Linked DNA regions of Homo sapiens: regions 2, 3, 4 and 5 are each linked to region 1. Evidence: promoter capture Hi-C in 16 types of primary human blood cells and fetal thymus (Javierre and others, 2016). All regions are on one chromosome and are shown on one strand. Each heading gives the region's core, a stretch centred on a gene start or on the middle of the fragment in contact. The rest is flanking DNA. Distances are from core to core; before and after follow the strand shown.

Region 1 (5,744 bases), core at 2,817-5,316:
CATACCTGTAATCCCAGCTACTTGGGAGGCTGAGGCAGAAGAATCGCTTGAACCTGGGAGGTGGAGGTTGCAGTGAGCTGAGATTGCGACCTGCACTCTAGTCTGGTGACAGAGCGAGACTCTGTCCCCCACCCCCCAAAAAAAGGAGAAAACTGAGATGAAAAGCTATCACACACAGCCTACCCACCAGCAAAAATTGGATGTGCACATTTGATAACAGCGCTTTCCAAAACTTTGTTTCCTCTGGTTTCTATTTCAGCTATGTAAGCATTTTTTTAGTCTACTAACTTTAAAAAGTTTTCCCTTTTATATAGCCAAGAACTTACCTTTCCCTTGTCCTCTCTTGGTCCTCCTAAATTTTCTCACAACTCACCTGTGTGGCTTTTCACCAGAATTCCTTTTGTCTGGAAAATCTTCCTTCTTCCTCCAAACCTAACCTGAAAGCATCCTCCCCCTAAATACTAGCCTTTCTGATTTTATAGAAGCTTCATTTCCTTGCAGCAGAGGGCTGGTCTAGCTCTTAATGCTAAATTCATTTTGCTCCATAAAAATGATGCATCAGCATCAGCAAAGCACAGAATCACCTACCAACACATGTCCTTTCTGCCAGTTGCTCATCCAAATATGCCTTTCTGGTGGTGACCTTGTGTTCCCTTCATCCTTCTGGTGACTCAGTTTTCCAAACCACAGAATTTTTCCCTACCAAGTTCACAAATCCTAAATCATTTCTGTTATAGGTGGTTTCCCAGCTGGGTGCAGTGGTTCACACCTATAATCCCAGCACTTTGGGAGGCTGAGGTGGGAGGATCACTTGAGGTCAGGAGTTCAAGACCAGCCTGGGCAACACAGCAAGAACCCCATTGGTATTAAAAAAAAAAAAAAAAAATATATATATATATATATATATATATATATATATGTTTCCCAAGGTTAAACAAACTTGATAAATGAAAGGAACTATGGACAGAAATGAGCTTGCTTGCAATAACGCCCTCTAATGTGTTTAACGCTTTGCACAAATGTTGTCAGGGAGTGAAGAGATGGAGGGAGGAAGGAATACATTTTACAAATACTTCATCAAGATGATTTCATTTGATCTTCCTAACAACCTTGGGAGGCAGGCAGGGCAGGCATTTATTACTCCCATTTACAGATGACAAAACTAAACTTCAAAAAGGTTTAAGTGACTTGCCCAGCCTATATCACATGACTAGCAAGTATCAGCTCAGACCTGTATTAAGGTCTTGCCTCTTCCAACCCCAAGTCTGTCTCTAACTCCGTATGTTTCTGTCTACAGCCAAGGAGTAACTTCCTAGAGATTCAGCATTTCAAAGCGAGAGTAGAGCTCTGACTTCTGGAACACCATCTCCCTTCAGCTACCAAGCTGGAAAGCCAACTTCAATCTCCCCAAGAAAAAACAGTGCCTTTCTCTTCTACATACCCCTCTTAACAACTACTTCTTTCCAAAATAATTTCCAACAGTTCCTGTTTTAAAAAAGACTTACTCATAAGACACTAACAGTCCAAAAAGTTTGCATCAGCGTAAGATTTTCTCAATAAACTTCAGGGCTGATGCAACATTTCTCAGTCAAACTTTACAGCTAAAATGACAAGAACACAGAACAGTCAAAAAATTACGCAAGACAATGCTACAGTTTTTTACTCTACCACATCTGCCTCTATGGGTCTCCTGTGAGTCACTGTCTTTTGTGGTCAGTCATCCCTACAAGAACTGCCATTTTCTACCCTAAATTATTTTATTTTTTAAAGAAAAGATCTGCAGGGCCAGGTGTGGTGGCTCACATCTGTATACCAGCACTTTGTGGGGCTGAGGCAGGAGAACGGCCTGAGCCCAGGCGTTCCAGACCAGCCTGGACAACATGGTGAGACGCTGTCTCCACACACACACACACACACACACACACACACACACACACACCAGCCTGGACAACATGGTGAGACGCTGTCTCTACACACACACACACACACACACACACAGACACACACACACACACACACACACACACACCCTTACAATAAAAACAGAATCCTATTACATCTTTCGCCACCTAGCTAAAGCACTGATCTCTAAGTTATTTTTTCAATGTTTACAATTACCATTTTACATAAACAGAAAAAGAGGCATAGTAAGGTTGAAGTTGGATTATTTAGTCATTTGATAAACACATTTGAAATCCTATCAAAAACCAGGGAATGAGACTCAAAAGTGAGGAAGAAGTGCCCCTCCTCTTGTAGCCTGGTGGAGACAAAAAGTAAAGAAGTAATTACAGGACAAACTAATCAAGATTAAGGTGTGGGTAGGCACATGGGCTGGGGCTGTAGAAATCATGAATGCTTCCTAGGGAAAGTAATTTGTGAGTATTTAGAAACATCTATCTCTTTATTTTCAATACAAAATAAACCTAAAGGACTCGACACTATTCCCTGAAAGGTTATAAGACTTACTTGCCAATAGTCAAGTCAAAAATCAAATTTAATAGCTGAATTACTCTTGACTCCCTATCCTAAATTTCAACCCTTATGCCATACTCCCTTTAGGCACAAATGATAGCAAGTTTAACAAATTCTGTCCTGTATGTGCCTTCTCACATGTCTACAGAATAGGATTAAAGACACACAGCGTGAAATAAATAGCCCTTTTTAAAAAGATAATAATTTTCTTAACTGGAAGTGAATGCTTTGAACAATTCAAGCCCTACAAAGCACGGCTGTCAGAAGAGGAAACTGAGGTTCAAAAAAGTCTCACTTTAATACAACAGAATAAAAGGTCTCTTTGAAGTCATCAGAAGAGCTTGAACGAAAAGAGAAACAGAAGGCTATTGTGAGCTTTAGCCTCCAGATGATGACCCCCCAAACACACTGCAATGGTAAACAAACAAGCCTCTGAGTCTGAATCTGATTCGGTGGACTGACAAAACATCACAATTGAAGGAATCTCTCTCCTCACTCATTACTTTTCCAAAAAAGTCCCACTAGCTGATAGCTCCAGGTTTCTTGCTGGTTCCTAGATTTATTGCTTGGAAATTATAATGCATAGTGGGCCTTTCAAAAAAAAAAAAAGGTACAAGCAAATGAAAACAACCACGGTTTTAAAGCCCCATAAAAGACCGTATATGTAGCAGAAATGAACCCTGCCAATGTTTACTATGAGGACCTATTACTCCTTTATGCTACTCGAGTGGATTTTAAACTCAAATGAATGCTACCACTGCCCACTAAAGAGCAAGTTAGAGAAGCACATTCATACACCTGCTTAACAGCGCCCCGACTGCCGCCCCCACCACTTCCCGGGACCAGGGCCAAGCGGCTGACCTGGAAACGGGGCTGCAGACCCCAGCCACTTACACTCTGCTGTCCCAACAAGTAGGCTCTGGAGTCACACTTCATTTGGCCCGGCACACCCTCATCCCCATCACCCAGACCCTCAGCTGCAAGGAGGAAATTACACGGCCTCAAAAAGGAAAAGGCTGGCGGCGGGCAGAAGTGGATGGTCCTGAGCGGTCTCGTTCCTGCTCCCCTAGTCCAAGGTGAGCCCGGGAATCCCGCAGCCCCCGCCCCCGCCCCCCAACTCGGAGTCGCTTTCCTGGTCGCCGCCGAGCTCCTTCCACCCCGCGGCGCCGGGAGCTGCGGTCCCCATCCTTGGCCCCTCCGGGCCTCAGCGTTCGCCTGGGCCCCAGGGGCCCTGACCCAGACCCAGCGGCGCGCCACAGCCTTCTCGGCCAGGGCCGCCCACCCTGTGGCCCGGTCTCCGTCCGACGACCCTGCCCGGCCCGCGCCAGGCAGCCCGCAGCCCCCTCGCGGCCCGGGGCCGCCCCACGCCGCCCGCCCGCCCGCTGGGCCGCGCACCGTGTGGGACTGCAGGCTCTGGCTCGCCTCGATGGCTGCTGTCAGCGGCACCGTGTCGTCCAGCAGCACCTTGCCGGCTGGCGGCTTCTCCATGAAGGCCATCCCGGGACGCCCGGCCGCCGCCGCCTAGGGACGCGAGGTAGGAACCCGAGGCGCCGACTCCCGCCGCCCGCCCGGTTCCACCGCCGCCGCTGTCAACACGCGCCGCCCCACGCGCCGCCGGGCCCGCGGGGTCCTAGCGCCGCCCTTCCCACGGCCGCCGCCCCGGAGTCCTAGCGCCGACCCAGCGCAGAACGTGTGGGGGCCGCCAGCACTGCCGCCCGCTGGCCCGCTCCTCCGCCTCGCGGCTGCCATGGGCCTGCGCTTCCCTGCTCCTCGCAGCCGCACCGCAGACCCGGTGCCCTTAGCTCCGGGCTTCGGACCAGGGAACACCACCCTAAGCCATCACTACCAGGATCCTCAGATCCAGAGACGCCTGGTCCTGAGCCCTGGGATCCAGGAATCTTCAGGGCGAGATTTCCAAACCAGGCCTCTCAGAACTGGGCTTTTCGGGGACCGTACCTCTTGAAACCCTCAGAACTGGATCTCTCTCATCCCCCAGGCCCAAGGACCCTAAAACTCAGAAAAAGGGCCTTTAGGATGGGACCCCCAGTCTGAGCCCTGCAAACCCAGAGACTTTCTGAAACAAGCCCTTCCTATTGAAACTTCACAGGGACTCTTGAACGTGGCTCCTCAGGCCTGAACACCTAAGAGCTGGACCCCATAATTGGAGGTCTTGGGCCCCAGAACCCTCAGACCCAAGCTCTAAGAACTGGAGACCCTATAAAATGGTCCAGAGACCCCTAGCCTCTACTCTTGGCCCCCACTGCGGGCTCAACCACATCCCTTAGACTTGGGAGTTTTTGATCCCACCATATGGACTAGAAGAACTTCAAACCAAGAGCCAAGCCAGAGAACCTTGGGATCAACTTCTCAGCCCTAAATCTGCCCACAGTCTGCCTGAACCCAAAGCCATAATCCTGGCACCACCTCATCCCCCCCATCTCCATATACACCTAGAAATTTCACCCACACTGCCCTCTCCTAGGGCAGCATTCCAGGATAGTGAAGAGTTAAATTTAGAATTGGAGGACCATCATCTCCATGGCTCTGGCATTTACCAGCTGTGTGATCTTCAATAAGTTACCCAACCTCTCTGAGTCCCAACTCCCCAATTTGCAAAGTGGAGATAATATTATTTGTATGAAAAGGTTAATACAAGGAATGCAGTAGACTGGGAAGGGGCTTGGCACATAGTAAAAACTCAAACGGTGGTCAGGCATGATCGCTCACGCTTGTAATCCCAGCACTTTGGGAAGCCAAGGTGGGTGGATCACCTGAGGTCAGGAATTTGAGACCAGCCTGGCCAACATGGCAAAACCCCCTCTACTAAAAATATAAAAATTAGCTGGGCATGGTGGCACGTGCCTGTAGACCCAGCTACTCTGGAGGCTGAGGCAGGAGAATTGCTTGAACCCGGGAGGGGGAGGTTGCAGTGAGCCAAGATCATACCACTACACTCCAGCCTGGGTGACAGAGTGAGACTCTGTCTCAAAAAACAAACAAAAAAACAGACAAACAAAAACACCTCAAACCGTGGTCAGGCATGATGGCTCACCTTTGTAATTCCAGCACTTTGGGAGGCTGAGGAGAGTGGATGGCTTGAGTCCAGGAGTTTAGCCTGGGCAATATGGTGAGACCCCGTCTCTACAAAAAAATTTTAAAAATACCTGGGCATGATGGCTCACACCTGTGGTCCCAACTACTCAGGAGGCTGAGGTGGGAGAGTTTTTTGAGCACAGGAGGTTGAAGCCGCAGTGAGCCATGATCATGCCACT
Region 2 (5,355 bases), core at 651-3,150, 190 kb before region 1:
TCTGTAGACAAAGGGGCATGGAAGAGCCCTTTAGGCTCTGTCAGGCCGTGGTCCTATAATTCAGACTCTGACCAGAAGAGATGTCAGTCTCCAGGACCATGGGAACAAATGCTGGCCTCATTATAATCCAGCCTCAGTCTCCTGTGGCTTTGGCCACACAGGGTTAGGAATACAGCCCTGGTGTGGATCTCACTGCTACCACTTCCTAGCCATGACCTTGGGCAAAAAACTTAATCTTTCAGAGCCTCAGTCTCTTCGTCTGCAAGATAGAGCTAATAACAGTACCTACTTTGTAGGATTCTAATAAAGATTAAATAAGTAAAACTTAGAGAGGCAGCTAGCACCCCCACCCCCAAATTAGACAGGAGGCAAGATTTAAACCAACACACACAATGTAAATAATGTTCACTGTGCTCAGAGCGTGGGGCCAAGGTTCAGCTCAGCCCTTCCCCAAAGTGTAGAGGTCACCTCTGTCTCTGATCCTCATCCTGCTTTTTAAGGCCCAGGCCCCTGGGCAGCTCTCCATCACTCCACTCCTCAACTCAGAGCCTTGAGCATTTGAGGATGTGGCTCTCAGATTAGGACAGGAAAAGGAGTGCGGGTCCGCAGTTCTGCCAAGCTGGACCCAGTCTGAGCAACAAAGGCTACTGGAGCCAGCAGAGGCAACACAGCACATCTGCTCACCTTCCACAGCCAAATGCTGCAAGCCCAGCATGGCTGTGAGCACACCATGTCTGAATGGCAAAGTGGAGTTGTCAGCACCTGTGTGAGGGCCCCCTAGGAAACACAAGTTCTTTCCAAGTGAGAAAGCGGATCGGGTCACTGCCCAGCTGAAGACTCCCAGTCCCACAGAGCAAATTCTGACCATGTTATTCACAGCCCTTCACTGACCTGGGCCCCAGGTATGAGTCCACCCTAACCTCCATGGTTCCCCATCATCACCTCATTATACCACCACACTTCAGCCTCATTAAATTGCCTGCAGCTTCCTGAAAGTACAGCCTTTTGCACATAAAGCTCCCCCTGCCTGGAATGACCTTTCCCCCAACTCATGTCCGCCTGGGTGAACTCCTTTGAACCCCCAAGGCACTCTTTTTTTTTCTATGATAGAGTCTCACTCCACCACCCAGGCTGGAGTGCAGTGGCACGGTCTCAGCTCACTGCAACCTCCACCTCCCAGGTTCAAGCAATTCTTGTGCCTCAGCCTTCCGAGTAGCCAGAATTACAGGTGTGCACCACCACACCTGGCTAATTTTTGTATTTTTTGTAGAGACAGGGTTTTGCCATGTTGGCCAGGCTGGTCTCGAACTCCTGACCTCAAGTGGTCCGCCCACCTCAACTTCCCAAAGTGCTGGGATATAGGTGTGAGCCACCGCGCCCAGCCGAACCCCCAAGACACTCTAAGTCTTGCTACTGAAAATCACTACAGCAGCATGGGCATCACAGGGGACCTTGTTAGAAATGCACAGTCTCAGGCCCTGCCCTGGAATCTGCATTTTGACAAGATCCCCAGGTGATCTATATGCACATAAAAAACTGAGAGGCAGGGCGGGGTCCAGAGGCTCACGCCTGTAATCCCAGCACTTTGGGAAGCCAAGGAAGGAGGATCACTTGAGCTCAGGAGTTCGAGACCAGTGTAGGCAACATAGCAAGACCCTCGTCTCTACTAAAAATACAAAAAAAAAAAAAAGCCGGGCATGGTGGTGTGTGCCTGTGGTCCCAACTACTCAGGAGGCTGAGGTGGGAGAATCACTTGAGCCCAGTGGGACAGAGGTTGCAGCAAGGCAAGATTGCAACACTGCTCTTCAGCCTGGGTGACAGAGTGAGATTCTATCTCAGAAAAAACAATTAAGAAGCACTGCTTTATACTTTCTCTCTTCCTTGCTCTCCCTTATAGAACTCATATATCCTACCTGACAAAATAATTGTGTGTGCTTGTCTTGACGAGATGCGGACTGTTCAAAATATGTTACAACCAGTAGGACAAGGCACCAACCAATCAAAATGGACTTTAGCCCTAGGGGAAGCAAGGTCCTGAAGGCCTCCTGCTGAGTCAAACATTAATCCTTTAGTTGCTGGGCTGTGGAGAGAAGGAGGGGGTCTTCGGGAAGGAGTCCATCTGGCAGAAGGGGCTCTCACAGGGTTGATGGCAGTGGACAGTTGCCAGCTGGTATTAAAGTATTATTTTTACAACTGCCACAGCCAGACCATAACATATGGGCTAAATAACAGCACTGCTTACCTTAAGGAGTTTATACTCTAGCTGGAATAAATTTCATATATATCTTGAAACTTTCTCACCCCATGGTGCACACATGTGCACGCACACACACACACCACTGACTTGAACACAGCAGACAACAAATAGCTATTTTCTTTTCTTTTCTTTTTTTTTTTTTTTTTTTTTTTTTGAGATGGAGTTTTGCTCTTATTGCCCAGGCTGGAGTGCAATGGCATGATTTTGGCTCACTGCAACCTCCGCCTCCTGGGTTCAAATGATTCTCCTGCCTCAGCCTCCCAAGTAGCTGGGATTACAGGCATGCACCACCATGCCTGGCTAATTTTTGCATTTTTAGTAGAGACAGGGTTTCACCATGTTGGTCATACTGGTCTCAAACTCCTGACCTCAGGTGATCCACCCACCTTGGCCTCCCAAAGTGCTGGGATTACAGGCGTGAGCCACCGCGCCCAGCCTTAAAATAGCTAATTTCTTAAGAACAGTGGTGCTGTCCTCCACCTTCCCCAGGCCAGCCTCCAATATGCCTGTATTCTTTCCTTCTACTTTCCAACCTACTTGAAACCGCTCCAAGCAAAAGAAAACAAGGGCCATGTTTCAAAGCCCACCAGTCCCCCCCGTCCCCGCTCCCCCCCCCAACACACACATATACACAACATCAAAACGCCTTGATCAGACCCAGAGCTAGGAGAAAAGGCAGCTGCTCATCAGCCTGCTGGGAAGCACATCATGCCTCAAGTTTATTCCAGCCATCTTGCCATGCTTCCAGGGTGACTTCTGGAGTAGAAAACCAGAAATCAGGAGAACATATCTTTGTGTCTTTGTAGGTGCACTGCTACTATGTCACTGTGAAGGGTTTTACAGAAGCTCTGGAGAAACTAGAAAATGAACCAGCGATTCAGCAGGTGCTCAAGCGCCTCTGTGACCTCCATGCCATACATGGAATCTTGACTAACTCGGGTGACTTTCTCCATGACGCCTTCCTGTCTGGTGCCCAAGTGGACATGGCAAGAACAGCCTACCTGGACCTGCTCCGCCTGATCCGGTGAGTGGCAGAGACTTCAAACCATGTTAGTCTTCAGAGAATAACCCTACCCCTTGTTCACAGGTCACTTCCAACTCCAAAACCTTGCTAATGGGCAGAGCAGCAACAGCCCTGGAGAGGTCTACACCCTATTATCATTACACCAGCATAAAGCATTATGAATTAATGAAAGAAAAAAATGGGAAAAAATGGGAAAAATACTGAAGAATAAATGAGCTACCTCAGTTGAACTCTTTACATTGTCAAGGAAATAGGAATAGTATCTAAGGAAAATCAATAAAATGAAGCATGCTACATATGAATGATATGTGCTAATGTGCTAATAATAGTCTCAACCATAGCTAACTTTTTTTTTCTTTTCTTTTTTTTTAGACAGGGACTGGCTCTGTCACCCAGGCTAAAGTGCAGTAGTACAATCTTGTCTCATTGCAACCTCTGCCTCTGGGTTCAAGTGATTCTCCTGCTTCAGCCTCCCAAGTAGCTGGGATTACAGGTGCCCACCCCCATGCCCAGCTAATTTTTGTATTTTTAGTAGAGATGGGGTTTCGCCATGTTGACCAGGCTGGTCTCCAACTCCTGACCTCAAGTGATCCACCTGCCTTGGCCTCCCAAAGTGCTGGGATTACAGGTGTGAACCAACGTGCCCAGGCATAGCCAACCTTTAAAGAGCACTTATGTGACAGGCCCTGTGCCAAAAGCTTTTACATACATCTCATTTAATCCTTACAGCCCTTTGAAATGGGTACTATTAATCTCCTCATTTTATTGGAAAGGAAATTCAGGCTGATGGGAGTTGCCCAGTATCACACAATCAGCCAGAGGAGGGGCTGGGTACAATCTCAGGTCTGGCCCCTGGGCATGAGCTCTTAACCTGTATGTTAAGGTTAAGGTTGAGGTATTATATACTTTGAACACATCCTAGTCTTTGTTGAATGTGCTTAAGCAAATTCTTACCAAGTTTAGTAAACTTACCTTAATCTTCCCTCAGCTTCAAGATGAAAAATTTTTTTTAACTCTGTAATTCATATATTGATTTATAAAATAATAACACAAAGTTTTTTAATGCAGCATTAATGCAGTGCCATGTATGGTGAATGAAATACTAATGCAGTGCTTTCACACTATTATTCTATAATCTAAACGATTGCTTTAAAAACATATCAAAACCAAAGCCCAACCTGATCAGAGTCCTAGAAAAAAATAGAAATAAAAACAATAAAGAAAAAAAAAAGCCTGGGCAACATGGCAAAACCCCACCTCTACAAAAAATGAATCAGGCACACACCTGTAGTCTCAGCTACTCGGGAGGCTGAGGTAGGAGGATTGATTGATCCCAGGAGGTTGAGGTTGCAGTAAGCTATGATCACACCACTGCACTCCAGCCTGGGCAACAAAGTGAGACCTTGTCTCAAAAAAAGGAAAGAAAAGAAAACATTGCAAATTATTTACCATTGTCCATAAGATTAAAAAAAATGGACTAATTTGAGAATATAATCTTTTTGAGACCTCACTGGGCAGAAAATATGATACCTATTGCATGGGGTTAGAGGCGACTCCTAGAATCTCCAACAATTCTTATATCAACAAGACTAATAAAAAGAAAAAAAGAGGCTGGGAGCAGTGGCTCACACCTGTAATCCCAGCACTTTGGGAGGCCAAGGTGGGAGGATCACTTGAGGCAAAGAGTTTAAGACTAGCTTGGGCAACATAGTGAGACCCTGTCTCTAAAAGATTTGTAATTTTTTAAAAATAAGATTTTAAGACAGGTTTTTAAAAAACTAGACCAAATTCCTTTTATTTCTCACAATATGCAATATGTTACATGCCCTTTATGACTACTCATAGCATGTAACAGATAGCTGGTGGTCAAAAAAATGTTTGTTCAGGCCAGGCGCGGTGGCTAATACCTGCAATCCCAGCACTTTGGGAGGCCAAGGTGGGTGGATCACCTGAGGTCAGGAGTTCGAGGCCAGCCTGGCCAACATGGTGAAACCCGGTCTCTACTAAAAATACAAAAATTAGCTGGGTGTGATGGCACATGCCTGTAATCCCAGTTACTTGGGAGGCTGAGGCA
Region 3 (5,159 bases), core at 2,464-4,963, 200 kb before region 1:
TTTCAATCCAATCACAAGAAAACAGCAGACAAATTCAAATTGAAAGACATTTACAAAACACCTGACCAGTACTCTTCAAAGTATCATGGTCATAAAAGACAAAGAAAGACCGAGGAACTATACTGTTTCATGTAGACAGGACAACTAACTACATGCAACGTGAGATCCTGAATTCAATCCTAAACCAGGAAAAGAACATTAGTGGGAAAACTAGCAAAACTCAATATGCAGAAAAATGTTAACTCAGCAATATTTCAAACCCTGCATAGTCCAAAGAAAGGACTGGCACCTGACAGCTCCTGGGAGGTAACCTCTATGCCCTTGGAATATCCTGCCTGAAAACAGTATCTTTGTATACTTGGGGCCTTGGGCCATGCCAGGCAGTTTATACTAATAATGTGATTCCGAGTGGGTCCTTAGGCCACACTCTATGAGTTTCACATCTGGAGTCGATGGAGACTGAGTAGCTAAGGTCAGCCACACAAGCATCCCATGGCTCTGTGATGACTGCAATAACTCTGGACACCAAGGTGTTGCCAGATGGTGCCATGCAGTTCCAGGCTCTTGGTGTCCCAAACGAAAAGCTGGACTGGGCCGGGTGCTGTGGCTCATGCCTATAATCCCAGCACTTTGGGAGGCTGAGGCGTGCGGATCATTTGAGGTCAGAAGTTCAAGACCAGCCTGACCAACATGGTGAAACCCTGTCTCTACTAAAAATACAAAAATTAGCCGGGCATGGTGGCACATGCCTGTAATCCCAGCTACTCAGGAGGCTGGGGGAAGAGAATTGCTTGAACCCAGGAGGCAGAGGTTGCAGTGAGCCACTGCATTCCAGCCTGGGCAATAGAGCAAGGCTCTGTCTCAAAAACAAAAAAACAAAAAAACCAAAAAACTGGACGTGATACACACAAGTAGCAAAGCCAGCAGCAATAGTTTATTAAGCACAGCATTATACTCTCAAAGAGGGCAGAGTGGGCTGACCTCTGCGAGATGAGATCAGCATCAGTTTCCTGGGCTTGTGGTCTTCTTATGTGTTCTTTTTTCCCTTTCTTTTCCCAAGGCTGCCGAGTCTCTAGCTAGTGTCTGCCTTTTGATTGATAGGCATGTTGCTTACTTTGTTTGGCCCTTGTGCGCTTGCACGTCGCCTCCGTTCCATAATCTCAAGTACATGCATGATATGCAGTCCATATGCATGAGCTTTAATGAGCTGATTATCATACGGGGTCATGTTAAAGATGCTTTTTCGCTCTAATGAGCATGCCTATCTCGGAGGAGCTGCCCCTTACTGGTTTGGTCAGGATCTTGCCAGCCATGGGGTCTCTTTACTCAGTTTTTTATCTTACTTTTGTTTTGGCTGCTTAACTTCTGCTTCTTCTCTTGCTTCTTGCTCACTCACCCCTTCACCTTGCTTCTGCTTTCGCTCATTCCACCCTTTATCCAACCTCCAATTCCTTCTGCTGTTCTCCTGCCTCAAAAGTGTGCTTCCCTGGTTGTCAATACTTCGTGCATATTGTAAACATCGTTGTTGGGAGAATTAAATGCTGTCCATACAACACCACTGGGAGAGGACACCTAGAAGCTCAGTCTATTCTCTCCTAGACTTCGTGCTATGTACCTTTTCCTTCTACTGATTTTAATCTGTAATCTTTTGCTGTAATAAACTGTAACCATGAGTATTACAGTTTCTTCTTGTTTGTTCTAGAGGCAAAGTCTCACTCTGTCACCCAGGCTAGAGTATAGTGGTTCCATTATAGCTCACTGCAGCTTCGAACTTCTGGGCCCAAGCAATCCTTCCACTGCATCCTCCCAAAGAGCTAGCACTACAGGCACACACCACCACACTGGGCTAATTTTTACATCTTTTTTGGTAGAGACAGGGTCTTGCTATGTTGTCCAGGCTGGTCTCAAACTCCTGGCCTCAAGTGATCCTCAAGCCTCAACCTCCCAAAGCAATGGAATTATAGGCGTGAGCCATCACGCCTGGCTCAGTATAACAGTTTCTAAGTTCTATGAGTCTTCCTAGCAAATCACTGGACCTGAGGTTGATCTTGGAGAACCTCTGACACACTCAAATAAGTTCTGAAGATTAGCTGACAATATTGCAGCAGTGTTAATGGCTTGGTTTCATAATTGTACCTTAGAAGAAGCTGAGTGAAGGATATACAAGAACTTTTTGCAGCTTTCTGAAATTCTAAAGTTATTTCAAAATAAAAAGTTAAACACAAAGAACAAGGAGACAAGTGTGATCATTGTTAGTGCTGGGTGTTAGGTACATGCAGGTTCATTATATTTTTCTCTCCACTTTTGTACAAGTTTGAAATATTTTGTAATTTAAAAAGCCTTTTTAAGCTAGAGAATTCAAGATTTCAGTGCAACAAATCAAAATGATCACATCCAAAACATACAGAACAGGGTCAGCTTCAAAGCGGATGAGAAAACAATTTAAACATGGAGAGTTTATTAAAAAGCCTTGCTCCAAGGGCCCCTGAGCAAGGCTTTCTTCACTGGGCACTTCCTGCAATCCAAGCCTTTCTCTATGGCAGAGAGGAACTAAGTCATTGCCCATGGTCAGTGATAGCATAAATCCTTGGCGGAGATGAGTCCAGGTGTAAGTAAGAACTTTCACCTCCAAACAGTGGGGCCAAGACCACCTTCCCTGAAACCACTGCCCACAGCAATGAGGACTGCCAGGAGTCTGAGCCCCACAGCTCCAGAAGGACCTACTAGGTGATAAGTTGCAAAGCTTGGGCCACAGGTCCTGCCTCTTCCTACAGACACAAGCTAGACACTACCTTGGGGATATGATGGGGTGCTGTGAGGCTCCTTACTGAGCAAATACCTTGCATTACAGGGGAGGCCAAGGCCCAGAAAGGAGTACACCTGCTCAGAGTCAACATAGCTCAGAAGTCCTGCCAGAACAGGAGCCTTGATCTCCTACTGGCCCCTTGATTTCTTTCCCAGTCTTACACAAATGTGTTACGTAATCTACTTATTGTGCAAACCCAAACAAAGTGACATCCCTCCCTGAGCCTGTTTCCTTACCTGCAAAATGGGGAGCCGCATCTGACTTTCCAAGGTGGTTATGCAGGGAGGGAACCTCTAAGCCTCTCATTCCTCTCACTAAGACCCAGCTCTCATCTGGATCCCACACACTACAGATGGATGCTTCACAAATATTTTTCCAGGGAATGTCAGGGGATGCTAAGCATAAGACAAGCCATATTTTAGAGCAGAAACATGGGGAGAGAGGAAAAACGTACACCTTACAGAGCAATCCTTTCACATGAGGACCATCTCAGGGGAGCCTATTAAGCTCGTGTGATATTAACAGCTTGAGTGCCTGAAGGGCACACAGTGAAAGATCAGGGAAGACCAGGATATCACTTTGGAAACACTGCTGGGGTACACAGCTTTTTGGTACAAGTAGTGTCAAAGGAATCCCTGGCTTTGAGATGTAAGGGCTCCAACCTCCCAGAAGTCCTCCCAGGGCAGCCCCAGCGACAGGCACAAAGGTCACACCCATGCAGGAAGAGAGGGAGGAAGGAGAGGAGCTCCATAAGCCCAGACAAGGGCTTGAGAGCAGACAAGGGCTTGAGAGCAGACAAGGGCTTGAGAGCAGACAAGGGCTTGAGAGCTGGCCAAGCAGTTTCTCTCAGCTTCTGTGTTCCAGCCCCTATGTGGGAGGAGAGAAGGGCAGGACCACAAGCCTGCCAGAGGCTGCGGCCTACAGCCGGGGAGAGGCCAGCCCGGCCTACAGTGCGGACACAGGACAGAGGGGAGCCAGGTGAGCCAGGTTTTTGGGCAGGGAGGGACTGGGAGACCCCAGAGGAGAGGGCTGCCCCCATGATGACCCTGTCCGCAGCTCCGAGAGACCCTGAGCAAGGCTTTCTTCACTGGGCACCTCCTGCAAATCAGGCCCTGCACTAAGTGTTAGGGTCACGGCATGACAGTGACAAAGATCCCGGCCCTCTTGCAGTTTCTGTGTTAGTAGCAGGGAGATGGAAGTAAACAAAAACATATGAAATGAGTAAATGATCTCAAATGTCAGAAGGGGATAAGTGAAAAGAGAAAAAGGAGAGCAGAGTGAGGAGGACAGGGAATGCCGGGGGAGGGGGCTTGGGGTTTTAAAGAGGGTGGCCTCTTTAAGGTTAAATGAGGTTCAATGCAAAAAGCCCTAGTGACATTTGAAGAAAGGGTGTTCTGGGCAGATGGAGATGCCCTAGCAAATGCTGGCAGTGGCAGGGAGGCCTGGAGCATTCAGAACAGCAAGGAGGCAGTGGCAGCAGAGCAAGGAAAAGAGGTAAGGCAGGACGAGAGGAGCCGCACTAGGGGCACTTGCAGGACTCCGGGGGGCAGAGGATGGGGCCCCTTGCCAGCACCCCCACAGCCCTGCTGGGGGTATTGGTTTGAAAGCCTCATATGAATCATTTGCTACATGTGGTTGCATGACCCTTATAAAGTCTCCTCCCTTTCCAAGGCCCACATCCTCTCCATAAAATGGTAATAACAGCAGTGCATCTGTCAGGTTGAGGTCAGGAAGGAAGGGGATCAAAAGCATGGCAGCCTGCCGGAGAGATTTACAACATACCTGCTGCAAGCTAGGAAATGCAGAGCTGGCCTCCCAGGCCTTGTGGGAGGAACATGTAAGCAAATAAGAACTTGTCCCTAACCCTAGAGCACCCAGGGAACGAGGGAGCTGAACTTTGTTCAGAGAGAACAGCAGGGGCAAAGGGTAGGAAGAGAATGAGTGGAGGCCAGGGATGAGGGCAGTAAGTTGACATAGGAGAGAGGTGAGTGGAGTAGGGTTGGGTAGACACAGCAAGGACTCCATTCCACAAACAGTGGGCCCCAAGGAGCAGATTCCAAGCAGGAGAGGAAAACAATGTGATTTGCAGTTCAAGAGTTCACCTGGCAGCTGGGAGAACAAATAAGAGGAACACTGAGGCCAAGTAAGAGATAACAGTGGCCTGGATGCTAGCCAAAGAGATAGCAAGGAGCAGATGGACTCAAGAGACTTGTGAAATAGGATGGACTGCACCTCATGGTTGCCTCACTGTGGAGGAATAGGGGCTTCTCAGAGGCCAAGCACTTGCCATGAAGGAGACAGGGTCCAACCTGGGTATGAAAGACACTCAGGGGCTCCAGGGGAACACTTCACA
Region 4 (5,618 bases), core at 2,714-5,213, 130 kb before region 1:
AAGTCTCAGGAAATCTTAGTGCTCACAGGGCCTGTAGCTACCCTCCAAGTCCACCCTGGCATTTTCTGCATGAGTAAACTCAGGCTTAGGAAAGGTTAGGGAACCTCTGCAATTCCCAGCGCTGGGTGGTCCATGAGCTGCGGCTGAGATCCATGCTACCTGCTCTGGTCTTTTCATTCACTGTAATGAACACATGCTGGTTACTACCAAGGAACTTCTGTCTGTGGTTGTATGGGTCATGGTGGACAGTGCAGGCCCAACCTCCCCTATGGAAGTCGAGGAGGCCCCAGATCCCCTCTCCCCACCTCCTGAGAGCAGAGATGTGATCCACACCCTGCCATCAGGACACTCCACCTGCAACGTCTGTGGGAGATCAGAATACGACCCCCTAAATACGCCTCTTTGTTATAAGCACTGTTGAGCTGAAGGCAATTGAGAAGATGCAGATGCAGGAAAGCTCTCTGCCCTTCCTCTACTTGCCTAAAAGCAGGACATAGATTACGAAGACAAAAGGTATCCGTACCCCCTCCTACCAAAGAGGACAAAGGTTGGGGCTGGGCGTGGTAGCTCACGCCAGTAATCCTAGCACTTTGGGAGGCCGAGGCGGGTGGATCACCTGAGGTCAGGATTTCAAGACCAGCCTGGCCAACATGGTGAAACCCTGTCTCAACAAAAAATAAAAAAATTAGCTGGGCATGGTGGCAGACACCTGTAATCCCAGCTACTTGGGAGGCTGAGACAGGAGGATCACTTGAGGCAGAAGTTGCAGTGAGCTGAGATCGTGCCACTGCACTCCAACCTGGGCAACAGAGCGAGACTCCGTCCCAAAAAAAAAAGGAGGACAAAGGCTAACCACTGAAGACAACTTGAGACCTTCATGGGCCCCTGGAGATGACGCCAGAGGAATCGACATGAACAAGCTTCACTCACTGGCCTTTATCTGCCAATTACTTGCCTTCCCACAAGTTACTGCCCCTGGAGACTCAAGTTCTTTTCCCGTCTTGTCACTTCTCTAAACATTCACTGTTCTTTGTTGGAGATGCTATATAAGCTGGAATTCCTGGAGAACGACTCATTCCCTGGGTATCCCCCATGTATATATGTTGCTGGAAAAGAGGGTCCTGATCCAGACCCCAAGAACAGGTTCTTGGATCTAATGCAGAAAAGAATTCAAGGCAGGCCGGGCGTGGTGGCTCACGCCTGTAATCCCAGCACTGGGATGCCAAGGTGGGCGGATCACCTGAGGTCGGGAGTTCAAGACAGCCTGACCAACATGGAGAAACCCCGTCTCTACTAAAAATACAAAATTAGCCAGGCGTGGTTGCACATGCCTGTAATCCCAGCTACTCGGGAGGCTGAGGCAGGAGAATCGCTTGAACCTGGGAGGCAGAGGTTGCGGTGAGCCAAGATCGCACCATTGCACTCCAGCCTGGGCAACAAGAGCGAAACTCCATCTCAAAAAAAAAAAAAAAAAAAATTTCAAGGAGAGCCACAGACCACAGTGAAAGAAGCAAGTTTATTGGAAACCACCCTGTTACAGAGTCAAGTAGAGCATCCTCAGAAAGCAGGAGGAGGAACATGCCATCCTTGGTTAGCATCTCTACTTATAAGAAACTATAAGGAGCTATAATTAAACTTGAAATGTGCAGATGTGCTCGCTAAAGGTAGTGGCTATTAGTATTGTCAATGACCATTAATCCTTCAATCGAAGCCTGCTCATTATCATTATCTTTAAGTACATTCGCTCCGTGCTTAGGACATCTGGACATTCTGCAGGCTTAGTGGGAGCTGCTCTGTAGGGCCATAAATATTCTGTAATTATAATTGGTGGTCAGCTTAGAGTGTGGCTATTTTCAGGTCCTAAATATTAACCTTTTAAGTGTCTTATGAGTGCCCAGTTACTCACTTCAAGAGGGAGTCATTCTGGTCATGTGTTATTAAACCAGAGGCCTGGTAAGCAGGGGTTCCTCTAACATATATAAAATACATACATTAATAAACTCCTGTTTGCTTTGCTTTTCTCTTGTTAATCTCTTTTGTTACAGGGGTCTTTTCCAACTAAGAACTTAGGAAAGTTGAGGAAAAATTTTTTTTTCCCAACATGCCCAAACTGCCCATGACCGCCACGTTGGTCCTGCCCCAGGAACAGACTACTGTGACCAGAGCCATGTATTCTTTGTTTTTTTTTTTCTTTTGAGACGGAGTTTGGCTGTTGTTGCCCAGGCTGGAGTGCAGTGATGCAATCTCAGCTCATTGCAACCTCCGTTTCCTGGGTTCAAGCAAGTCTCCTGTCTCAGCCTCCTGAGTAGCTGGGATTATAGGCATGCACCACCATGCCTGGCTAATTTTGTATTTTTAGTAGAGATAGGGTTTCACCATGTTTGTCAGGCTGGTCTCAAACTTCTGACCTCAGATGATCCACCTGCCTCGGCCTCCCGAAGTGCTAGGGTTACAGGGGTGAGCCACCACGCCCGGCCCCAGAGCCAGGTATTCTAATGATAAATTTGCCAGGTGACCAGTTCACCTGTTGACTAATTTGCATAATGAACAGTTTGCCTTGAATTCAGACCTCTTTTGAGAGTTTTTGCATTTATTCAGCTGCCCTATTCTTTTTTATTTTTTTAGTCACATTTTAGGCATTTTTAACGATTTAAAAAATTAACTTCCTCTAAGGGGCTTTTCCCCTGCTAAATCTCATATTTCTGATTATTTATGAAATGTATATTCTAAGCAATGAAATTGCTATTTATTGTGTGGGAGTCTTTTGATAATATATCAACCTTCAGACAAACTGTAAGATACTTTTTTGTAAGTTTACATAAAGACTCTTTCTTCAAAGTTGTATGTTTACAGCAAGAGACCCTTACTGAGTCTGATGTTCAAGATATTAAATTCAGAAAATTATCCTAGATTTTAAACATTAAATGAGTGCTCTTGGTGAGCAACTGAGCTGACTTTCATGGTGGCATGAGACACCAGCACAGCTCTTAGCAGCTAACCATAATTAATGTCTGATAATGAATAAGAATATACTAGGCCAAGTGTGTGATACCGGGTTCATATTCCATTTCAGTCCATAAATAAGTATTGTGTGTGACTATATTTATAATAAAAGCAGGCCAGACGCAGTGGTTCACGCCTATAATCCCAGCATTTTGGGAGGACAAAGCAGGCGGATCACTTGAGGTCAGGAGTTCGAGACCAGCCTGGCCAACATGGTGAAACCCCGTCTCTACTAAAAATACAAAAATTAGCTGGTCATGGCGGCACGCGCCTATAGTCCTACCTACTCAGGAGGCTGAAGCAGGATGATCACTTGAACCCAGGAGGCGGAGGTTGCAGTGAGCTGAGATCCTGCCATTGCACCCCAGCCTGGGTGACAGAGTGAGACTCAATCTCAACAAAAAATATATATATAATAAAAATTAAAACAACTAACATTTTTTAAAGGCTGGCCACGTGCTGAAGACTGGGCTGAGCTGTGTACTCCTGTTTTCTCTGTTTGTGGTGCTTCCTGAGAGCAGGGCCTTGTCTTTCCTCCCCAGCATATTCTCAGCTGGCTCATAGTAGATGCTCTATATTTTCAGAATAACTGAGTGACCTTGTTGGCTGGTACTGTTGTTATCTATCACCTCAAGTGTGTAAGTGAGGAAATTCAGGTTTAGGAGTTGTTACTTGCCCAAGAACAAGAGAAAGGGCAGCATGACCCTGGAGCCTGCATTCCTAACGCAGGTGAGTGTGACCTCACCCTTGTGCTCTAACAAGTAAAGCCCTAGAGGGAAGCAGGGGAGGATGATAGATGGATTAAAACATTATTTTAATGTGAGGCTCAGAGTTGGGGGACTGAGGGTGGGTGTGTAGGTACAGCGATCCATCCGTGGGATGGTTCTGAAATGGCTCTCTATGAACCCTAAATGCCTTTATTATTGGGAATGTGAGAGTAGAACATTCCAGAATGAGCGAGCCTTGGGACAGAGAACAAGCTAGGGACAGAGGCCAAGAGTACAACAGGTGGCCTGTTCAACATGTTGTAGCTTTCCAACAAAAGGTTAGCCTTGACCTCTCTTTTTTGCTTCATCTGACACATACAAATTATTTTATTTTATTTTATTTTATTTTATTTATTTATTTTTGAGACAGAATCTCACTCTGTCTCCCAGGCTGGGGTGCAGTGGTGCAATCTCAATTCACTCCCACCTCTGCCTCCCAGGTTCAAGCAATTATCGTGCCTCAGCCACCCAAATAGCTGGGATTACTGGTGTGGGCCACCACACCCTGCTAATTTTCTTTTTCTTTTTTTCTTTTTTTTTTTTTGAGACAAAATCTTGCTCTGTTGCCCAGGCTGGAGCGCAATGGCGCGATCTCTGCTCACTGCAACCTCTGCCTCCCCAGTTCAAGCGATTCTCCTGCCTCAGCCTCCCAAGTAGCTGGGATTACAGGCGCGAGCCACCATGCCCGGCTAATTTTTTGTGTTTTAGTAGAGACGGGGTTTCAGCATGTTGGCCAGGCTGGTCTTGAGTTCCGGGCCTCACATGATCCGCCCACCCCGGCCTCCCAAAGTGTGTGAGCCACTGCACCTGGCTAGTTCTGCATCTTTATTGTGGTGGTTGCCCAATTCCATACGTGCCACAAAATAGCATAGGACTATCCACACACTGTACCAATATCAATTGCCTTGTTTTGATATTGTGCTATAGTTACCTGAGCTGCAACCATTGGAGAAACTAGGTGAAGGGCACACAGGACCTCTTTGTACTCTCTTGGTAACTTCCTGTGAATCTATAATTATTTCAAAATAGAAAGGTTTTTTTTAGCTGGGCTCAGTGGCTTACACCTGTAATCCCAGCACTTTGGGAGGCCAAGGCGGGTGGATCACGAGGTCAAGAGATCGAGACCATCCTGACCAACATAGTGAAACCCTGTCCCTACTAAAAATACAAAAATTAGCTGGGCGTGGTGGTGCGCACCTGTAATCCTTGCTACTCTTGAGGCTGAGGCAAGAGAATCGCTTGAACCGGGTTGTGGGGTTTCAGTGAGCCAAGATCACACCACTGCACTCCAGCCTGGTGACAGAGCAAGACTCTGTCTCAAAAAAAAAGAAAGTTTTTTTTTTAAATTGTGGTTCAAGCATCCCCTGGTTTCTCCGATTTCCCTTTATAAACATTTGCAGAGATTCCGGTGAAGTGCAAAGATGGATATGCCTTTCATATACAGAAAGTTCCCTTATTCTTTTGACATCTTTATAATTTTCTGTTTCATGACTGTGCCAGGTATTTCTAAATTCAGACCCTAACCCATGAATATTTAGGTTATTTCCATTTTTTGCTGTTATAAATATTATCATAGTTGACATGAATCATCTTATCACTCATTGTTTTTGTGACTGTGTTTGCAGATTCCTGAAATCAAAACTGATTTTCTTAACAGCTATGCTATGTTGTCATATTTATCTGTGTTTTAAGCCACTATATACATTTTTTCAAAGAGCCTCAAAATTCCTAAAATAGATATTTATATCTACATTCTAAATGGCAAAAGAATGAGAGAAAGAAAGAAAGAGAGAGAAAGAGAGAGGGAGGGCGAGGCACGGTAGCTCATGCCTATAATTCAAGCACTCT
Region 5 (4,976 bases), core at 2,151-4,650, 170 kb before region 1:
CTGGTGATAATCACAGGGTCCAAAAGTAAAGGAAACCTGGCAGTCTCTGGTGTCCATCATGTGCTTATTCCACTTGGTAAAATAATTTGAGATGCCTTCTAGTAAGGAATGGACCTTAGTGGTGATGGTTAGTTGCGTTATGATGACAGCCACTGGGTTGGAGTACTTAGAAAGCTTCCGAGTACTAGACAGCTCCACAACTTCTTCAAAAGTATCCATGGGATACAAAGGCTTAGGATCATTGAGACACTGAATCAAGGGCTCAATCTGGTAAAAATCTGCTTCTTTCCGAAGCAGATCAAATTCCTTAAAATCCAACGGTAAGGTCAATTCTGAAGTTCTTAAGAAGTTGAGGACATATCGGAAAAGAGGTCCATCTCGATCAATAAAGTAATTGCCTTGAGGGTCTCGAGCTGTGGGGAAGTCCCCCCCAAACATAGCTCCAAGCATGGAATCCGGGTAACGCGTCAATGTGGTGAGAGACGTTGTATACAAGTGTCCACCTACATTTAATGTGACTGGGTCAGTCATCTGAAATTTGTAAAGAAATGATCAGTCATCTGAAATTTTTAAATACTAACTTTGACAAATTAAGAAAGTAAGTGATACTGAGCAAAGCCCAAGATTCTTTCAGGCTATAATGTATTTAGTAATCCTCTAATGCAAAATGACTTTACTACCAGCAATAAACCCACCCAGATGAAGTGATCTAACATTTGCTTTCAATAGAAAAAAAAAGGAGAAATCCAATTTCTCTTTAAAGACTTATGCTAAGAATACAGGGCATTGACTTCCAGAGCCAAATCATTTCAGGCCCATTATCTATAGAGTTTTCAGGCCAGAATATATGTGGGAAGGGAAAAGCCACGCTAAAATACACTTATTTTTTTCTGATTTTTTTTTAAGGCTTGCATTTTTCTGAATTTAATTTAACATTAGATAGAATTAAAATGATCTGATAATATAGACATTTACTTTCAATATTTCTTTGGTTTCTCCCCCTCAAACAAAAGGAACAAACTATGAAATTTGTTTTTAAAATAAAAATTTGGGCCAGGTACAGTGGCTCATACCTGTAATCCTAGCACTTTGGGAGGCCGGGGCAGGCAGATTGCCTGAGCTCAGGAGTTCAAGACCAGCCTGGGCAACATGGCAAGACCCCATCTCTATTAAAAATACAAAAAAAAAAAAAAAAAAATTCACTGGGTGTGGTGGCCTGAGTAGTCCTAGCTACTTGGGAGGCTGAGGTATGAGAATCACTTGAACCCAGGAGGCACAGGCTGCAGTGAGCCAAGATCATGCCACTTCACTTCAGCCTGGGCGACACAGAGAGATTTTGTCTCCAAAAAAAAAAAATTATTTAAATTAAATTAAAAACTGTGCAGACCTAATCTTGGTAACTTTTTCATGGAAGTGATACTTTCAAATACTAAGTTAAAATATACAGTTTAGTCAATACAACCAAGCCAGAAAAGCATCACATACCCAAAAGCTTACAGCAGCCATAAAATTTCATAATCTGATAGTGTATTCACTTTTGTAACATTAATGCTGCAATCTGGCCTTTAATTCTGAGAAGCAAGCTTCTCTTAAAAAACATACCTTCAGTTTTAGAAATACTATTTACGAAAAAAATAGGCCAGGTGTGGTGGCTCACACCTGTAATCCCAGCACTTTGGGAGGCCAAGGAGGGTGGATCACTTGAGCCCAGGAGTTGCTGACCAGCCTGGGCAACATGACAAAACTCCATCTCTACAAAAAATACAAAATATTAGCCACACATGTTGGTGCCCACCTATCGTCTCAGCTACTCAGGAGGCTGAGGTGGGACAATCACCTGAGCTTGGAAAGTCATGAGCCGAGATCACGCCATTGCACTCCAGCCTAGGGAAAAGAGCAAGACCCTGTCTCGAAAAAAAAAAAAAAAAAGGAAGAAAGAAAAAAGAAAGGCAGACAGAGACTTCAGGTATAGGCAAGTAAAATATACCTTACACCAAAGGAATAGAAAAATAGGGAGACATATGCACACACAAAAAATGCAAGTGGGGAGAAGAGGCACTTTCTCAACCATTAATCTCCCAAACCACAACAAAATATCCTCCAAACTCACTAGATCCCTTTGTAGTCACTATTCATGAAGAAAGAGTCTTCAGAGCAACACACTTGAAAAAATAAAAAATCACGTTACCTCTCCAGTGATTATAAAAAGTATTTGGAAAATCCATTTTGAGTTTGATTCCATTAAAACACCAAACAAAGGCAGAGGATCGTTTGAGGTCAGGAGTTCGAGATCAGCCTGGCCAACATGGTGAAACCCCGTGTCTACTAAAAATACAAAAATTAGCCAGATGTGGTGGTGCACGCTGATAATCCCAGCTACTCAGGAGGCTGAGGCAGGAGAATCTCTTGAACCTAGGAGGTGGAGGTTGCAGTGAGCCAAGATCGCGCCACTGCACTCCAGCCTGGGCAAGAAGGCGAGACTCCACATAAAAAAAATTAAATAAAAATTTAAAAAACACCACACAAGACAAAAACGCCTCCAAAATACATCTAAACTAAGTAAAAGGGGGAAGAGAGGTTACACAAATTCACAATTTTCTTTTCTTATAAGATATACCTAAAAATACATAAGGATAAAAAGACACACAAAAATAATTCCCCAGCCTTCAAAATGCATCTCCAAGAAGCACTCACCATATAGCCCCAGTCTCCATTATCCATCTGCTCCAGTGATGCGTCTTCAAGAGCCCAGGTTTCAGGGAAACTTCAAGAGGAGAAAAACAGACATATGATAGCATATATAACTAGGAAAATAGAGAAGAAAGTCTTTTTCCACCCAACAGAGGAGGCCAAACACCAGAAAAACTACTCGTCCTTGCTCAGCTGAAACCTACTACAGGGCAAAGATCTGGGGAAGAAAGCATTCCCCTAGGGCCTTCTACATGTCCTGTATTCTTACCATAGAGAACCCATCTGGAACTAAGAGACTGAAGATTTTCAGAGAAAGAACTATACTGTACTTAAGAGAAGGAGGAAGAGTCTAGGAAGTAACCCAGTCATTCAAATTCTACCTCTCTTCTTAGAACATCAATTTTTAGAATTTATATAAGAGAATATTATGATTAACTCTACAACCTTATCCTGGTACAAACCTATAATGGTCCTCACCAAAAAGGTCATTTAAGAAAAAGGGACAGGCTGGGCGCAGTGGCTCATGCCTATAATCCCAGCACTTTGGGAGGCTGAGGCAGGAGGATCACCAGGTCAGGAGTTCAAGACCAGACTGCCCAACATAGTGAAACCCCATCTCTACTAAAAATACAAAAAATTAGCTGGGCGTGGTGGTGGGCACCTGTAATCCTAGCTATTCAGGAGGCTGAGGCAGGAGCATCACTTGAACCCGAGAGGCGGAGGTTGCAGTGAGCCGAGACTGTGCCACTGCACACCAGCCCCTGCAACAGTGCGAGACTCCATCTCAAAAAAAAAAAAAAAAAGAAAAGAAAAGAAAAAGGGAGAAGGGAAAACTCCTTTTCATCAGCATTTCAGCTATACAAGCCAATCACCTGAGTAAAAACATCAAAAATCATAAACCTCCCAGGATACCAGCATCCCTTTCCAAGAGAAATACATCAGAATGGTATTTATCTTACAATATAAAAAAAAAAGATGATGCTTTTAAATAATGATGTATTTCTCTTTGTACAATTAAAACAAATAGAAAGTGATTTAAATGCCGAAGTGTTAAAGAGCACAATTTGGGGCAAAAAGAACCTTACCGATATAGATGAGAGTCAATCAGCCAGCACTCATGGAGAGCCAGCCTTAAGACACTGAGAAATGCTCAGATACTAATGATGCCAATGTGAATTTATTTTTATCTACAATTCAAAAGCATTTAAACAAACAGTTTCCCAGCTACTGAACTGCCTTAGTCAGTTCCCTCTCACACACTTCAATCCCAAATCAACCTGTAAAGCAAACTGCAGAGCAAATTTCTAAAGCTCTGGCAAGACATGGTAAGAAACATGGACTTATTGGTATTCATCCAGGAAAAGCACTGGCTTTTTTACGTGGTCCTTTAACAGATTCACTTTTCCCACTTTTAGAGGAATCTGGCACAGAATTCCCAGAACAAGCCCTAGCTACAGAAGATCACAAAGGCTCTTTCTCAAAAGGTCACTCAGGCATGTAGAGAACATTTGCATAGCACAGCATGGGCTGAAATCAGAGCCTGAAGCATCTATTTCTCTACCTTGCAAATCCTTCAAAGCACACAACTAAAATGTGGACCAGACTATGGGGCAGTCAGTTTTTATTCTTTACACTCAGCAGTTGGATATAGACAGGCCTCCACATGCTATGGGGTGAGAAATGGAACAAATGTCAAATTCAAGACTGTTATGACAGTCTTTCATTCCTCTGACTTGCTTCACAAATAGTATCCGAAGTAAACAGGACCAAGAAATGGGCTTTGCCAATTTGTCTTGCCAGGATCTGATTCAGTTACTGATAACAACAGATTAGTAACTGAGCAATTTAAAAGGCCACTCATCCAAAAGTTCTGGTAAGATGCTCATCTTTGGCATTTTCCCATCACCCAAAGTATTCATTCTGACAGCCTCAATAATCATTCATTCAGCCAACAATTATTGTGGGTCACCTATGGAGTGGAGGGGGTGCCTATGTGCAATGCGGACACACAGAAAGAGGAAAAAGACAATCTTTGCCCTCATGGAGCTTTCCATCTATAATGGAAGGCAACATGCAATGACTGAAGTACAGAACAGAATTCAAAGTGCTGTATAACAGATGGACCAGCAGAGGCCCGTGAGAGGGGAAAAGCAAGATTTCAAATGGGAAATAGAGGACTTCTGGGAAGAGCCCATTCAGTTGAATCCTTGAAAGAAAATTCGGACAACCTGAGAAGGGATTCTAGAAGGAAGAAACAATTTAATAGACAGGGGCATGAAAGACTT

Evidence for each region. Contacts are between HindIII fragments. The CHiCAGO score rates a contact against its expected background, and 5 or more counts as called.
Region 2: a contact is called between a fragment that was not itself captured here and the fragment with the promoter of PXK in region 1, in 1 of 17 cell types (naive CD8 T cells). The highest score is 5.9, in naive CD8 T cells.
Region 3: the fragment with the promoter of ACOX2 here is called in contact with the fragment with the promoter of PXK in region 1 in 17 of 17 cell types (naive B cells, naive CD4 T cells, total CD8 T cells and 14 more); the score reaches 22.9 in naive B cells.
Region 4: a fragment that was not itself captured here is called in contact with the fragment with the promoter of PXK in region 1 in 4 of 17 cell types (total CD8 T cells, total CD4 T cells, naive CD8 T cells and 1 more); the score reaches 6.4 in total CD8 T cells.
Region 5: a fragment that was not itself captured here is called in contact with the fragment with the promoter of PXK in region 1 in 15 of 17 cell types (total CD8 T cells, naive CD4 T cells, total CD4 T cells and 12 more); the score reaches 18.1 in total CD8 T cells.

What each region holds. Positions count from the first base shown.
Region 1 is chr3:58,331,214-58,336,957 of GRCh38, reverse strand. It overlaps PXK (PX domain containing serine/threonine kinase like), which reads right to left and starts at 4,066. Exons shown (of 18, transcript NM_017771.5): 1 at 3,868-4,066. The coding sequence starts at 3,969. RefSeq lists silencers at 3,222-3,516, 3,763-4,292. The HindIII fragment of the contact is 5,516 bases long and covers 488-5,744 here.
Region 2 is chr3:58,515,132-58,520,486 of GRCh38, reverse strand. It overlaps ACOX2 (acyl-CoA oxidase 2), which reads left to right. Exons shown (of 15, transcript NM_003500.4): 13 at 3,064-3,281. Among named protein-coding and RNA genes, the nearest start is that of ACOX2, 19 kb to the left of the region's middle. The HindIII fragment of the contact is 4,163 bases long and covers 1-3,981 here.
Region 3 is chr3:58,535,744-58,540,902 of GRCh38, reverse strand. ACOX2 (acyl-CoA oxidase 2) reads left to right here and starts at 3,713. Exons shown (of 15, transcript NM_003500.4): 1 at 3,713-3,784. LOC107984079 (a long non-coding RNA gene) reads right to left here. Exons shown (of 3, transcript XR_001740724.2): 1 at 4,589-5,159. The HindIII fragment of the contact is 2,666 bases long and covers 2,746-5,159 here.
Region 4 is chr3:58,465,466-58,471,083 of GRCh38, reverse strand. The region is part of intron 1 of LOC107986092 (a long non-coding RNA gene); the gene reads right to left. Among named protein-coding and RNA genes, the nearest start is that of KCTD6, 24 kb to the left of the region's middle. The HindIII fragment of the contact is 6,081 bases long and covers 923-5,618 here.
Region 5 is chr3:58,496,501-58,501,476 of GRCh38, reverse strand. KCTD6 (potassium channel tetramerization domain containing 6) reads right to left here. Exons shown (of 3, transcript NM_001128214.2): 2 at 2,695-2,764; 3 at 1-531. The coding sequence starts at 2,721. Among named protein-coding and RNA genes, the nearest start is that of KCTD6, 6.9 kb to the right of the region's middle. The HindIII fragment of the contact is 3,629 bases long and covers 1,586-4,976 here.